Linked DNA regions of Homo sapiens: regions 1, 2, 3 and 4 are each linked to region 5. The links are contacts of gene promoters, found by promoter capture Hi-C in blood cells and fetal thymus (Javierre and others, 2016). All regions are on one chromosome and are shown on one strand. Each heading gives the region's core, a stretch centred on a gene start or on the middle of the fragment in contact. The rest is flanking DNA. Distances are from core to core; before and after follow the strand shown.

Region 1 (2,700 bases), core at 57-2,556, 460 kb before region 5:
ATGCTGGCACCTTGTTCAAAAATTACCGATAATTTAAAGATGGTGACAGCAGAGTATTAAACCAAGTGTGGGGGCCCTTGTAAGCATAGGCCATGGTGGCACATCCACAGCCTGGCACAGAGTGGGTCTGCAATAAATTGTAGTCCTTTTTCTCTCTAGATCACTGATTATAACCCTCTCCTTTTGCAGATGAGGAAACTGGAGTCCAAAGAAGAGTTTAAAAATGCAAATCAGGGCCGGGCACGGGGGCTCATACCTGTAATCCCAGCACTTTGGGAGGCCAAGGTGGGTAGATCATGAGGTCAGGAGTTCGAGACCAGCCTGGCCAACCTGGTGAAACACCGTCTCTATTAAAAATTAAAAAATTAGCCAGGTTCAGTGGCATGTGCCTGTGATCCCAGCTACTCAGGAGGCTAAGACAGGAGAATCGCTTGAATCCGGGAGGCAGAGGTTGCAGTGAGCTGAGTTCACCCTACTGCACTCCAGCCTGGGCAATAGAGCAAGACTCCTTCTTGGTGGAGGGGGGGAACACAACTTAGTACCAGAGCCAAGACCACAACCAGACCTCCTTTGTTCCTAGCCAGTGGTCTTTACCCAGCATTTCCAAAGCCTGTGTTCTATATGATGATAATAGATATTCCATGTATAAAAGTTTCCATCAACAAGCAAGTTTATAAAACACTGGATTAAGATTAAAGAGACATCTTTTGCAGAGCTCTTCAGAGACTTTTATGTGCAACAGGAGTCTCCAAGACAGGGATATAATATGAAACATTGCACAAAAGTATTTGATGTGGGACCCTTTTGCAGGAGCATATTAAGCGTCTCTCAGAACTCTTTCAGAAATGCCACTCTAAACACTGCCCCAGGGTGATGGAAGTTTCCATGGGTTTTGATCTGTGGGGTGTGGTTGTTTTTATTCTAAATTAGAAGCAAATATATTATTTCCACTAGTCCTTTCTGTCAGCATCCCTGTCCCAGCTGACTTGTGAGCCTGAGGATATAAAGATAATGAAAACCAGACTCCAGGAAAAGCACACTTGTTTAGAGTCACCCAGCTGCATCCATAAGGCAGATGCAATATGCCTCTCTCCCAAGAGTAGAACACAGACAAAACATACACTAGGATCCCAAAATTCTTTCCATTCTGGGTAATTTGCTCACAGACATCACATTGCAAAAGTAATAGCCAAAGTCCCCTATAAAGTCACATAAGAAGCTGGGAAATCAGGATTCTTATCTCAGCACCTTCATTTATTAGCTGTTTGACCTAAATTGATCAATTCATCAGCTCGTCACTTTGCTTTTATCAAATACCTTCTTGCATCAAATTAAATTAATTTCTCCCTTTGTTGAACTACCATTATTTCATCTGTAGCACTCTCCCCCCAGGACTTTGAGAATCTCTATGGAATGTAGTTTGAAAATCAGCAGATTGGATGATTACTATAGATCATCCAGTCTATATGGATGGATGAAATCTATACAGAATCTATAGGGAAAGGAACTATAGTTCCTTTCAGCTATAATAGTCTGTGATTCAAATTTATATACAGTTTTGCGACCTATTGCCTCTGCCTATTAACCAAGGACCCTAGTTCCCTGAGAAATGCACCTCTTAATTTCTGAGAGGCCTGGAGAGTGATTCTCACATGCTGAATTGATGAGATGCCAGGTGACTTGGACACTTCTGGAGTTCCCAGTACATAGCATCTGTTACATGGAATGCATGGAGGTGAGGAAACTCTCTCTCCCCATCGTGCTATACTTTGTCACATGGGTTTCTAATGGGTAATATTTATGTCCTTTGCTTTCAGTAAAGCAGCTCTTCTATATTTTGCTGATTCCTTCCTAACCCCAGTTTCCCTCTACAAATTCCTAAGCCTGAGCTGCAGCAAGGTCAAGAAACAAATCTGTATGACAAACCTAATGTTAAATGTTGGCTCATTCCTCCTTGATTTTGAAGATTCTATTACTGGATCCATGTTGCCTATCTCCTTACTTTCCTTAAGATGAGTTCTCTCCCAGGAGAGACCCAAAGCCCTCACAAAAAATGGACTTTGGGTGAGTTGGGCCTACTAGGTCGAATATGCCCAATTGGTTCCTCCAGGAAGCAGATGCCAAAATGGAGTGAGAAGTGCCAGAAATGTACTGGGGCGGGGAATGCCTGTGAGGGAGCAGGAGTAGATGCGGGAGCCTCAGATGGTGATGCAGATCTGACACCAGCGAAAAAAAGAGGGAAGGAAGAAGGACCAGGCAGGAGGAGCGTCAGGTTTCAATGCAGCTCTGAGAAAGTCTCAGCCAGGCTGATGAGGAGCCCCAGAGCAGAGACTGCCCATTACAGGAGTCCCATGTTGGGCAGGAATGGCTTGACTTTCATACGTCTGCAGAGCTTGGTCAGTGGCAGGGAGAAGGCCAGGGTGAGCATAACCGGGGTGTAAACACTGCAGGAGAGCCCAAAGGTGCTGCTGCCTGAGGCCGGCCACTAACTGCTCTTCTCCCAGCAGGCTCCCTGTGGGAGACCTGAACAGCTCACTCCTGGTGGCTGCCATATCACGAATACCCACACCTGTGTGAATTCCAAAAGTGGACATAATTTAAGCTCAAACGGAGCCCCAAATGTACATTTATTACAATTTTTTGTTGAGTGTACAAAAAGTATTGCACTTGGCACAGCAGCAGCCCCACCCTCACCAGTGG
Region 2 (2,700 bases), core at 170-2,669, 510 kb before region 5:
GTGATATTGTACTACAGTTTTGCAAGGTGTTTCCATTGGGGGAAGCTGGGTAAAGGGTACATATAATCTGTCCATATTATTCCTTACAACTGCATATGAGTGTCCAATTTTCTCAAATAAAACATTTAATTAAAATAGTACATATGTGATTTCTCTTGTCCAAACCCTGATTGATAATTTGAACCCTTCATCAGACTGGAAAATTTCTCTTCTATTCCTAGATTGCTAAGTATTTTGGTCAGAAGAGGTGTTTATTTTTGCCAATAGATTTATCTGTATTTTTTAACATAATCATAGCTTTTCTTTAAAAAAAATTTTTATTATTTCTTCCAATGAAGGCTTTTCTCTTTTAAGGTAAATTACATTGTTTGATTTCAGAATGCAAAACCAACCTTGCATTCCCGGGATAAACCCTACTTCATCATGATGTATTAATCCTTTTATAAATTGCTGGATTTGATTTGCTAATATTTGCTTAGGATCTTTATGTCTATGTTTATGAAATGTTTTTCAGACACCTATGGTGTCTGAAAAGTCCTCAGTAAAAATTCATTGAATTCAGACTTGTTTAAATGATACTCTAACTGCAACATAGCTGATGTTGTGGTCCAGACACCCCCTCAGGGCCTAGACAGTCATTCCCTCAGCTTCTGGAGTTGGTTACTGATGATACACAACTGAGTCCTTCTCTGGGGGCCGCCCTCCACCGAGGGAAGCAGTCTTGCCAAAAAAAAAAAAAAAAAAAAAATCACAGCTCCTCCCCAGGTGTAGCCTGTATCCATGACTGGTCAATGCAAGGATAAGAGTTTCTGGCCCCCTTGCTTTAATGTGGAACTACTCTGAAGGGTCATCCTAGGCTCCAAGCATGCCTTGGGATTGGTCAAGGCCTCTGCTGCAACTGTTTTGCAGGCCAACTTCTTCCTCTGCCTACAAATTCCTGCTTCCTTCACTTTCTTACAGGTGCTGATCTTTAAGTTCTCCCTACCTCCACCAATAACCTTGTAGGCAAGCTAATCTCCCTCTTGCGTCCCCCAGGGGCTCAACACAGGACACACCACGTTACCCTGTTTTATTTTTCTTTTCATAGCATTTAACACCTTATACGTGAAATAACCTTATTTACTTAACACTTAAAATACTTATCGTCTGCTGTAAGAATGTAAGCTTACCAGGACAGATCTTTCTCATACGCTATGCACCGCTGTATCAAGCGCCTATGGCAGGGCCTGCAGAACACAGCAGGCACTAAATACTGGTTGTTGAATGAACCGATGAGTCTGGCCCCGCGCTTTTGGTCCTGGGATCACATATCCCCCCTCCAGCTTTTAACACGCACCTGGGAGCTGCGGCTCGGGGTGTGCCCCCGAGTCCCCGCCCCTCAGGCCACGCCCCCAGGCCCACGGAGAGGGCGGGGCCCCGCGGACGCAACGGTGGGCACGATGCGGCAACCCGCCGTTCGGTTGGTGCGCCTGGGTCGGGTGCCGTACGCCGAGCTACTGGGGCTGCAGGACCGCTGGCTGCGGCGGCTGCAGGCCGAGCCAGGCATTGAGGCCCCGTCGGGGACTGAGGCGGGCGCGCTCCTGCTCTGCGAGCCCGCGGGGCCCGTGTATACGGCCGGGCTGCGCGGCGGCCTGACGCCCGAGGAAACTGCGCGGCTACGGGCCTTGGGCGCCGAGGTGCGCGTCACAGGCCGCGGTGGCCTGGCCACCTTCCACGGCCCGGGCCAGCTGCTTTGCCACCCGGTACTCGACCTGCGGCGTCTCGGCCTGCGCTTGCGCATGCACGTAGCGTCGCTGGAGGCGTGCGCCGTGCGCCTGTGCGAGCTCCAGGGCCTGCAGGACGCCCGCGCGCGGCCCCCGCCCTACACTGGCGTCTGGCTAGACGATCGCAAGATCTGCGCGATCGGTGAGCGCCGCGGAGCAGGGCGGTACCTGAGAGCCGAGGTCGGAGCTTGAGGCCTGGGGGCGGGGTCTGACGGGGCTGGACCAACGGAGGTGAGGGCCGGGAGGAGGCGTATCTAGCGCGGGTTTTGAATCACAGCTACCCGCTGCGTTTGAGTTTTTAAGCCCCTTTTCAGATATCGTATATTCAGAAGCAGAAGGCTCCTCACATCTAGTCCAACACGCATTTCTGTTAAGGGAGAGACAAGAGAAGTGAATTGCCAGGTTACGTCCTGCGAATGACAATGTCATGGCAAATAAGGGTGCTAATTTTCAAACTTTTTTTTTTTTTTTTTTTTGAGACAGAGTCTCGCTTTGTCACCCAGGCTGGAGTGCAGTGGCGCAATCTCGGCCCACTGCAAGCTCCGCCTCCCGGGTTCACGCCATTCTCCTGCCTCAGCCTCCAGAGTAGCTGGGGCTACAGGCGCCCACCACCAGCCCGGCTAATTTTTTGTATTTTTAGTAGAGATGGGGTTTCACCGTGTTAGCCAGGATGGTCACGATCTCCTGACCTCGTGATCCGCCCGCCTCGGCCTCCCAAAATGCTGGGATTACAGGCGTGAGCCACTGCGCCTGTCCCCAAGCTTTTTTTTTTTTAAGTATTGGAATCTGTTAAAAGACATTTCCTGGAATCCTCATGATGAGTGCAGCTGCTTGAAGCCACGCACCCCTTCCTTTCATTTGTTTCCTTTTCCCATCTGAGTACAATCCCTTGTTTCTCCAGAAACAAAATTTGAAAACCGGTGATCTAATCCAGTTT
Region 3 (2,700 bases), core at 157-2,656, 340 kb before region 5:
TTCAGTCATTTCCCATTGACCTTCGAATAAAATCCAAATTTATTTATAGAGTAGGCCCTTCGCCATCTGGCTCCTGTTTACACTTCATGCCTCATTTTTGCCATTCATCCCTCAATGTGCTATGCTTATTCTCAAAACAGATCATTGAGATTTTGCCAAAGAAAGTGGCTTCCGTAGTTCCGTGCACTTCCTCTTTTGGAGCATGTGTCACTCTTGTTGTTGGCTGTTTGCTTCTCTGTCTCCACTACTTAACTTGTCCCCACCTGGCTCTGAGGGTGAGGATCCCAATGTCTGCTGGGTCCCTCTGGGGCCAAGCACAGCAGCTGGCACCCGGGATGCTCAGTAATAATTGAATGGATGAATGAATGCTAGACTCTGAGGACAAAGAGAAGCTTCACAAAAATTTCCTAGCCTATGTGAAGAACAGATGTATTGAATTAATAAATTGATCTCTCCGCTAAGCCAACAGCAAATGTGGGACTAGGATGGTGGGTTTGAGCTGGCCTATAAGCTCCACTAGGGGTCACTGTGGCAATGCCTCGGAGTCTTAAAAAATCACGTTATTTCCATGGAAAGACTCTACCTACTTCGAATGGAAATGTGATTTTTCAAAGGTGGTAGTGGTTTTATTTTGTGTTTTAATAAGCTCCCCATTCAGTCCACTGGAGAGAGCTGTATGTGAGCCACCCGTGAGTCTGAAGGACTTAGTAACCCCTGCTTGGTGCCCACTTTATGCCTGTAGTGGTTCTTCAACTTGGAACCACCATAACAGCTTTCACAAACATGATTTAATTTATCTTCCACATCAGATGTTGGCAGCCAGGATAGAGATTGTTATTATTTCCATCTTAAAAATGATATTTCTAGAACGTTAAGTAATTTTCCCAAGGAATCACAGCTGGTACCTACCTAAGCAGGGACTTGAATCTGGGTCTTTCGAATACAAATGTATTAGTTTACTAAAAATATATTGAGTTCCAGGCTCTGTAAAAGATGATAGAGATGCAAAGACATGCCCCCCAAACTTAATGTCTTAGAAGCAAAGACTGTCAAAGCGGAAAGGAACTTTGAAGATCACCTAATGAAGTGTTCTCAACTCGGATGTGTGTAAGAATCACCTCAAGAGCCTGTTATAAATGCAGATTTCCTGGACTTTGCCTGTCTTCCACCCTCTTACAGTCTGATTCAATGAATCTGGGTGGACCTTGGAATCTGAATTTTTCATAAGAACATCCACATTTACCTGAATAATTCTGTTGCAAATAGACTGTGGACCACACTGAGAAACACTGATCTATTGGTTTCATCCTTTCATAATATAAAGGAGAAACTGAGGTGATGTGAGTCCCCTGGAAATATTCCTTGGATGTAGAAGGGAGGCTAACCCAGGAACTGATAATGAGCAATGTGAAGTAATGATGCAATGGAAAGAGCACTCGACTGAGAGCTGGGGACCCTGGGCTTACCGTCTTGCAGCTGAGTCACTTCATTTCCATAAACTGGTTTTCTCAACTGTAAAATGCAGGACAATACATACTTCATAGGCTTATGATGAGGACAGGCAATTCAAAAGATTTGGAAGAAGACTGGCACTAGAGACACTTGATAAAGAGATTAACAGGATTGTTTTGAATGCTCTTTCTACTTTATTTATCTATTCTCTTATTTTCATTTTTATTTTCTTGGCTGGGTGTGGTGGCCCACGCCTGTAATCCTAACACTTTGGGAGGCCGAGGTGGGCAGATTGCCTGAGCTCAGGAGTTCAAAACCAGCCTGGGCAACACGGTGAAACCCTGTCTCTACTAAACAATACAAAAAAATTAGCCAGGCATGGTGGTGGGCGCCTGTAGTCCCAGCTGCTTGGGAGGCTGAGGCAGGAGAATTGCTTGAACCTGGGAGGTGGAGGTTGCAGTGAGCCAAGATCACGCGACTACACTCCAGCCTGGGGGACAGAGGAGGACTCCGTCTCCAAAAAAAAAAAAAAAAAAAAAAAAAAAACAGAATTATTTTCTTGAGACAGAGTCTTGCTACCTTGCCCAGGCTGTAGTGCAGTGGCACAATCATGACTCACTGTAGCCTTGATCTCCCAACCTCCTTTCTCAGCCTCCCAAGTAGCTCGCACCACAGGCATGCACCACCACTCCTGGCTAATATTTTTATTTTTGTCTCTCTACGTTACCCAGGCTGGTCTTGAACTCCTGGGCCTCCCAAAGTGTTGGGATTGCAGGCCTGAGCCTCCATGCCTAGTCTATTCTATATTTTTAAACGAGTACTTGCAATTGCCAGGCACTCAGCTAGGAACCATCTCACCTATATGAAGTATATGATCTAGTGTAGCAGACAGCCATTAATTATACAAATAAGAAGTAATAATAATAGTTATTATTATTATTATCATTATTATTCTGAGACAAGCTTTCACTCTGTTACCTAAACTGGAGTGCAGTAGCGCAATTCTGGCTCACTGTAGCCTCAACCTCCTGGACTCAAGCAATCCTCCCACCTCAGCCTCCTAGCTGGGACTACAGGCACACATCTCCACAATCAGATAATTTTTAACTTTTCTGTGGAAACGGGGTCTCACTGTTGCCCAGGCTGGTCTCGAACTCCTGGCTTCAAGTGATCCTCCTGCCTCAGCTTCCCAAAGTGCTGGGTTTACAGGCGTGAGCCACTGTGCCTGGCCCAAATAAAAAATTATAA
Region 4 (2,700 bases), core at 132-2,631, 270 kb before region 5:
ATTTCCAACCTCACCTCAATACTCTGGACCCAATTATCAAGTCTTGCTGAGGATGGTAATACAAGTAATTGTAACCTTGCGCCAATCATTTCCCTTCACTTTTTCCTTCTGTCCTATTTAGTGTACATTTACTGTGGGCCAGAGACACATAGAAGAAACAGTTCTTGTCCTCAGGGGATTTACAGTCCAGTAGGGGAGTAAAACACAAAAACCAACATTTTAATGCAGCATGTCATTCCTATGATAAAACTGGCTACATGGGGCTGTAAGAGCATAAGAAAGGGAACTTCACAATCCAAGAGGGAACCAGGAAGGAAGGAAGGCTTGAAATGGCTTGGAATACAAGAAGCTTGGCATGGTGCTTATGAGAGTGGTTAACAATAAGGCTGGAGAGGTAAGCAGGGGCCAAACCATTAAGGATTTTGTAAGCTATGTTAAGGATTCAAAATGTATTATTACAATAATAAGTTACCATCTGAGCACTTAAGCATGTGCCAGGCATTGTACTAAGCACTTTCTCATACTGTCTTACAGAACACTGTAAGCTCGTAACTAATGCGACAATGATTGAGAATGAACAGCGATGACTGATAAAGAAGATCCCTAAGGAGACTAAAGGATATGAGACCCAGAGCCCCCATAAGTAGAGACAGCAGATTTTCTCAGCCTCAGATTCTCTATTTATAAAATAAAGGAATGGGCTTGAAAGTTCTTCTGGTCATTACATCCTGTGGTTCTTACCCCAGTTACGCAGGATTCAAAAGTTTTCAGTGTATTCTTCTATCCATTTTTAAAGTTGATTCTCAAAATCTACCCTATACAATTAAGCACAAAAATACTGAAATTCTTTTCTGAGATGATGAAACTGAGGCCATGATTAGTGAAGTAACCTGCCCAAGGCCACTTCATTAATTAGTGGAGGAATAAGATGATCCCATTTAGTAAAGTCCATCCTGTGCCCCTCCTCCTGCAGTAAGCTGCCTCTCTCTGGGTGCTCAAGCCTAGTCACCTCTCCCTTCTAGCTCCTAAAGTTGTTAATGCACTTGGATCCAAACACAGAGCAGCACATGGCCCTCTTGTAAGTTTCAAGTAAGTTTACATTTTACATGCCACTGGTGCTTGCCTCCCCAGGAGTGTGTCATTTCCATAAGAACAGGGGACAATGGTGTTATTACTTGCTCTATATCCCTAATAAGACCTAACACAGGGTAGGGCACTGAGTAGATGCTTAAGTCTTTAGCGAATGAATGATGAACAAATGACTAGATCCAAAACTTACAACTCCAATCTCCCTGTTCTTTCTGTTAGATCAGCTCTGATGACTAGGGACGCATTTGTCCTTCCTCTTTGGAAGAGTAGGTATAATCAGAGAGAACTCACATACACCAACAACACTGTGCCAGGTACACATAAAATAACATGTTCATGGGTAATCCTCATGATTATTCTATGAGGTGGGAATATTTCCAAACTCTTCTCTCCCATTGCACAGATTAGGAGCCTTAGGTTCAGAGAGCCTAAATTATTTACCCAAGGGGTACTATGAATAGGTGGTAGTTTTCCAGGATTTCATAACTAAGTCAGTTGGTTTGAACACAGTGCTGGCAAAGCTGTGGTTTGGAATCTATGCAGCCTTAGCCATTTCCCTTTGTTCTGTGGAATGTTCCTTATCCTCGCCATTTACTCTCTATACTCATAGGAGGCTTTCTTTAAACCAGAAGGTGGTCTTGATATAATCCATATTGAGGAAACAGGAGGACATCTCATAAGGAATCGTGATTACTTCCTGAATATAATGAAAGGCATCATTTGTTAGACTACCCGCATTTTTTTCATTTAAACTTCATGTAACTGTACTGAGATATATCATTATCTCCATTTCACAGATGAAGAAACTCAAAATTAAATAAGTTAGGAATTCACTCATACCGCAAAACTATTAACAGTGATTCAAACCCAGGATTGTCTGATTCCAAGGCTGGTGATCAACAATGATTTCAAATGCTATCCCAGTCCATGTCAACTGCCTTCAGGCAGTCTCAGGGGCCATATCTGATTCTTCTGTCTGCCCAGCATCATGCATAGGTCTTGCACAGAAAGGGTGCCTAGGAAAGGTTTCTTGAATTGAACTTAAGTGTCTTAGATTCAATTTCATGGCACTCATGTTGGTAATTACGGGCTTAGACATTTATAAGCATCTACTTAAATAAGTGTCTAAGCCCATAATTACCAACATCAGTGCCATGGAAAAAAAATCACACAGTCCCAGCTCATAGTCCTATTCTAGGCCTCAGGATACAATGTAGTTAAAGGAAGGCAAAGCCATGAAGGTCTGGGACCAGAGTTTTATATGTGAGAGCCTTTGAACAACTATTATGAGAGAATATAGCTCCTTTTGCTGTGGAAAGCTTGAGGATAGCTAAAAGAACAGTTTGAGAGGCCCATGAGATATCCAGCAGGTTTGCTACATAGGCTAGGACTGGATCTCAGGAGAGAGGGGTGAGGTGGATGTTTAGCTTTGGGAGTCATCAATATATAAATGGAAGCCATGAAATTGTCCAGGGAGAGTAAGTAGGGAAGAAAGGTCTAGAACAGATTCTGCCTGAGCCTGAAACTTTGGTCTTGGAGTTGGCACCTCTTCTTCCCATAACCCAAAAGTTGTATGCCTACTGGCTTCACCTTCACTGAGTCTTTTACCCG
Region 5 (2,700 bases), core at 161-2,660:
GAGCCTCTCCGGAATGCACAGCCAGACAGAGCTCAGCGCAAAAGCTAGAGAACCTGGCGGAGGGAGACTCACAGTGCCACAAAAAAACTTTATCTTTTCTTTTTTTTTTTCTTTTCTTTCTTTCTCTTTCTTTCTTGTCTTTCTGTCTTTCCTCTCTCTCTCTCTGTCTTTCTTTCCTCTCTTTCTTTCTTTTTTCCTACATGGCAAGATCTCCTCATGGCAGAAATAATCTGCCTTGACTTCTGTTTCCACGCTGCTTCTGCCAGGACCATGCGCTCGGCGTGTTTTTCTTTCCGCTATAATTATCCAGGCCCATCCCAGCTCTGGTCCCCTCAGCTGTTCCCTGGCAGTCCCTTCTGCTGGTGAAAACACATATGGCGCCGGCCTGACCAGGGTGTAAGTGTGTGAATATCAGGAAGATGACTGAACGTCTTTGGGACTCCGTTTCCTCATTGTAAAATGGAGGTTAATACCAGCCTTCTTCTACTCCCCAAACGCACGTGTTTGTCCCGGCCAGAGGGCCCAATTGTTGGCTGTTCACGCGTCAGTTACCCCCACAGGACGGGTCAGCCAATTAAAGGCGAACCAGGCCCGGTCCATCTCCTGACGCCTTTTCTCATCCCAGGGCTGGACAGGCAGCTGGCCTGGGCCCGGCTCTGCCTTGTCACGTGCGGGGGCCGGCCCGTTTGCTTGTCTGTGTGTAGGAGCGTGAGGTCACGCTGGGTGCTCCCGCCCCGCCGGGGCCTTTAGTGTCCTGGTCCCTAAACGCCAGGCCGCTCCACCGGGGGAGAAGGCGCGAACCCCAGCCGAGCCCAACGGCTGTTGTCGGTTGCCGGGCCACCTGTTGCTGCAGTTCTGATTGGTTCCTTCCCCCGACAACGCGGCGGCTGTAACCAATCGACAGCGAGGCCGGTCGCGAGGCCCCAGTCCCGCCCTGCAGGAGCCAGCCGCGCGCTCGCTCGCAGGAGGGTGGGTAGTTTGCCCAGCGTAGGGGGGCTGGGCCCATAAAAGAGGAAGTGCACTTAAGACACGGCCCCGCTGGACGCTGTTAGAAACCGTCCTGGCTGGGAAGGCAAGAGGTGTGTGACTGGACAAGACTTGTTTCTGGCGGTCAGTCTTGCCATCCTCACAGAGGTTGGCGGCCCGAGAGAGTGTGAGGCAGAGGCGGGGAGTGGCAAGGGAGTGACCATCTCGGGGAACGAAGGAGTAAACGCGGTGATGGGACGCACGGAAACGGGAGTGGAGAAAGTCATGGAGAGAACCCTAGGCGGGGCGGTCCCCGCGGAAAGGCGGCTGCTCCAGGGTCTCCGCACCCAAGTAGGAGCTGGCAGGCCCGGCCCCGCCCCGCAGGCCCCACCCCGGGCCCCGCCCCCGAGGCTTAAGCCGCGCCGCCGCCTGCGCGGAGCCCCACTGCGAAGCCCAGCTGCGCGCGCCTTGGGATTGACTGTCCACGCTCGCCCGGCTCGTCCGACGCGCCCTCCGCCAGCCGACAGACACAGCCGCACGCACTGCCGTGTTCTCCCTGCGGCTCGGTGAGCCTGGCCCCAGCCCTGCGCCCTTTGCGCCCCCCACGCTTGTTCTGCGTGCGCTGCCCGCTCTTCCATTTACCTTCTCTCCCACCCAAGTTTGTACTCTTTTCTTTCTCTCGGTTTTATTTTTTGTTTTTGTTTGTTTGTTTGAGACAGGCTTTCGCTCTGTCTCCCAGGCTGGAGTGCAGTGGCGCGATCTCGGCTCACTGCAGCCTCCACCTCCCAGGTTCAAGCGATCCGCCTGCCGAGTAGCTGGGATTACAGGCGCCCGCCACCACGCCTGGCTAATTTTTGTGTTTTGTAGAGATGGGGTTTCGCCATGTTGGCCAGGCTGGCCTCGAACTGCTGAGCTCAAGCAATCCGCCCGCCTCGGCCTCACAAAGTCCTAGAATTTTAGGCATGAGCCTCCGGGTCCGGCCTGTGCTAATCCTTTCTGTCCTTGGTTCTTTATTTCTCTTCTCTCTTTTTCTTAGTCCCTTTTGTTCTTTCCCTCTCCCGTTCAGTTGGCTGTCGTTTGAGCCTCCACCTTTTCACTCCCTCCTTTCCACCACGATGCCGAGCCCTGCCTTGGATGGGGACCATCAGCGATGACCACAATGACCTCTCCCTTACCAGGCAGCTCCAGGCAGTGTTCCTGCACCGCCTTTCCCAGGGCTTGGGGGCTTTTTCTAGTGGGCTTTGAGCTGCTCAATCTGGCCTCTGCAGGGCCGGCTCCCAGCCCTTCCAACCTCCTCACAGCCCGACCTGGGACCTAGCCAATTCCCGGAGAGTCTCTGTCCCATCGTGACCCCCTCACAACTCTCCCACTCACCAAAGTCTGATGACTGTGCTAGGGGGTGCTTATATAGAGTACTGAGTGTTACAAAAGCAGAAGTCTGGATGAGAACCAATTTGTGATATTAAGCAGGTGGGGTGGGGGTGGGGAGTGTACCTAGGTTCATTTTCCGCCCTGCTTTTCCCCTTTCCAGTGTGTGCACTTAACCAGTCCCTGGGCCCTGTTCCCCATCCCCCTCCAAGGCATGGATTGGGTGGGCTTGTGTGTCTTGGGGCAGGTGGCCCTTTCTAAACTCTCTGCCTTTGCTCACCCACAGGACACATAGTATGACCATTAGGTGTTTCGTCTCCCACCCATTTTCTATGGAAAACCAAGGGGATCGGGCCATGATAGCCA

The links. Contacts are between HindIII fragments. The CHiCAGO score rates a contact against its expected background, and 5 or more counts as called.
Region 1: a fragment that was not itself captured here is called in contact with the fragment with the promoter of UCP2 in region 5 in 1 of 17 cell types (endothelial precursors); the score reaches 5.4 in endothelial precursors.
Region 2: a contact is called between the fragment with the promoter of LIPT2 here and the fragment with the promoter of UCP2 in region 5, in 1 of 17 cell types (fetal thymus). The highest score is 8.0, in fetal thymus.
Region 3: a contact is called between a fragment that was not itself captured here and the fragment with the promoter of UCP2 in region 5, in 1 of 17 cell types (endothelial precursors). The highest score is 5.8, in endothelial precursors.
Region 4: a contact is called between a fragment that was not itself captured here and the fragment with the promoter of UCP2 in region 5, in 1 of 17 cell types (endothelial precursors). The highest score is 5.8, in endothelial precursors.

The regions. Positions count from the first base shown.
Region 1 is chr11:74,444,951-74,447,650 of GRCh38, reverse strand. No RefSeq gene overlaps it. Among named protein-coding and RNA genes, the nearest start is that of KCNE3, 21 kb to the left of the region's middle. The HindIII fragment of the contact is 3,014 bases long and covers 1-2,700 here.
Region 2 is chr11:74,492,443-74,495,142 of GRCh38, reverse strand. It overlaps LIPT2 (lipoyl(octanoyl) transferase 2), which reads left to right and starts at 1,419. Exons shown (of 2, transcript NM_001144869.3): 1 at 1,419-1,905. The coding sequence starts at 1,440. It overlaps LIPT2-AS1 (LIPT2 antisense RNA 1), which reads right to left and starts at 1,763. Exons shown (of 2, transcript NR_171028.1): 1 at 1,170-1,763. RefSeq lists silencers at 1,184-1,433, 1,544-1,653. The HindIII fragment of the contact is 1,360 bases long and covers 1,167-2,526 here.
Region 3 is chr11:74,319,494-74,322,193 of GRCh38, reverse strand. All of the region lies in intron 3 of P4HA3-AS1 (P4HA3 antisense RNA 1), which reads right to left. Among named protein-coding and RNA genes, the nearest start is that of P4HA3, 9.2 kb to the right of the region's middle. The HindIII fragment of the contact is 2,023 bases long and covers 395-2,417 here.
Region 4 is chr11:74,248,157-74,250,856 of GRCh38, reverse strand. All of the region lies in intron 11 of PPME1 (protein phosphatase methylesterase 1), which reads right to left. It also overlaps a transcript of P4HA3 not described here. Among named protein-coding and RNA genes, the nearest start is that of P4HA3-AS1, 62 kb to the left of the region's middle. RefSeq lists a silencer at 99-393. The HindIII fragment of the contact is 2,059 bases long and covers 352-2,410 here.
Region 5 is chr11:73,981,553-73,984,252 of GRCh38, reverse strand. UCP2 (uncoupling protein 2) reads left to right here and starts at 1,410. Exons shown (of 8, transcript NM_003355.3): 1 at 1,410-1,532; 2 at 2,621-2,700. RefSeq lists an enhancer at 73-573 and silencers at 830-989, 1,290-1,499. The HindIII fragment of the contact is 10,071 bases long and covers 1-2,700 here.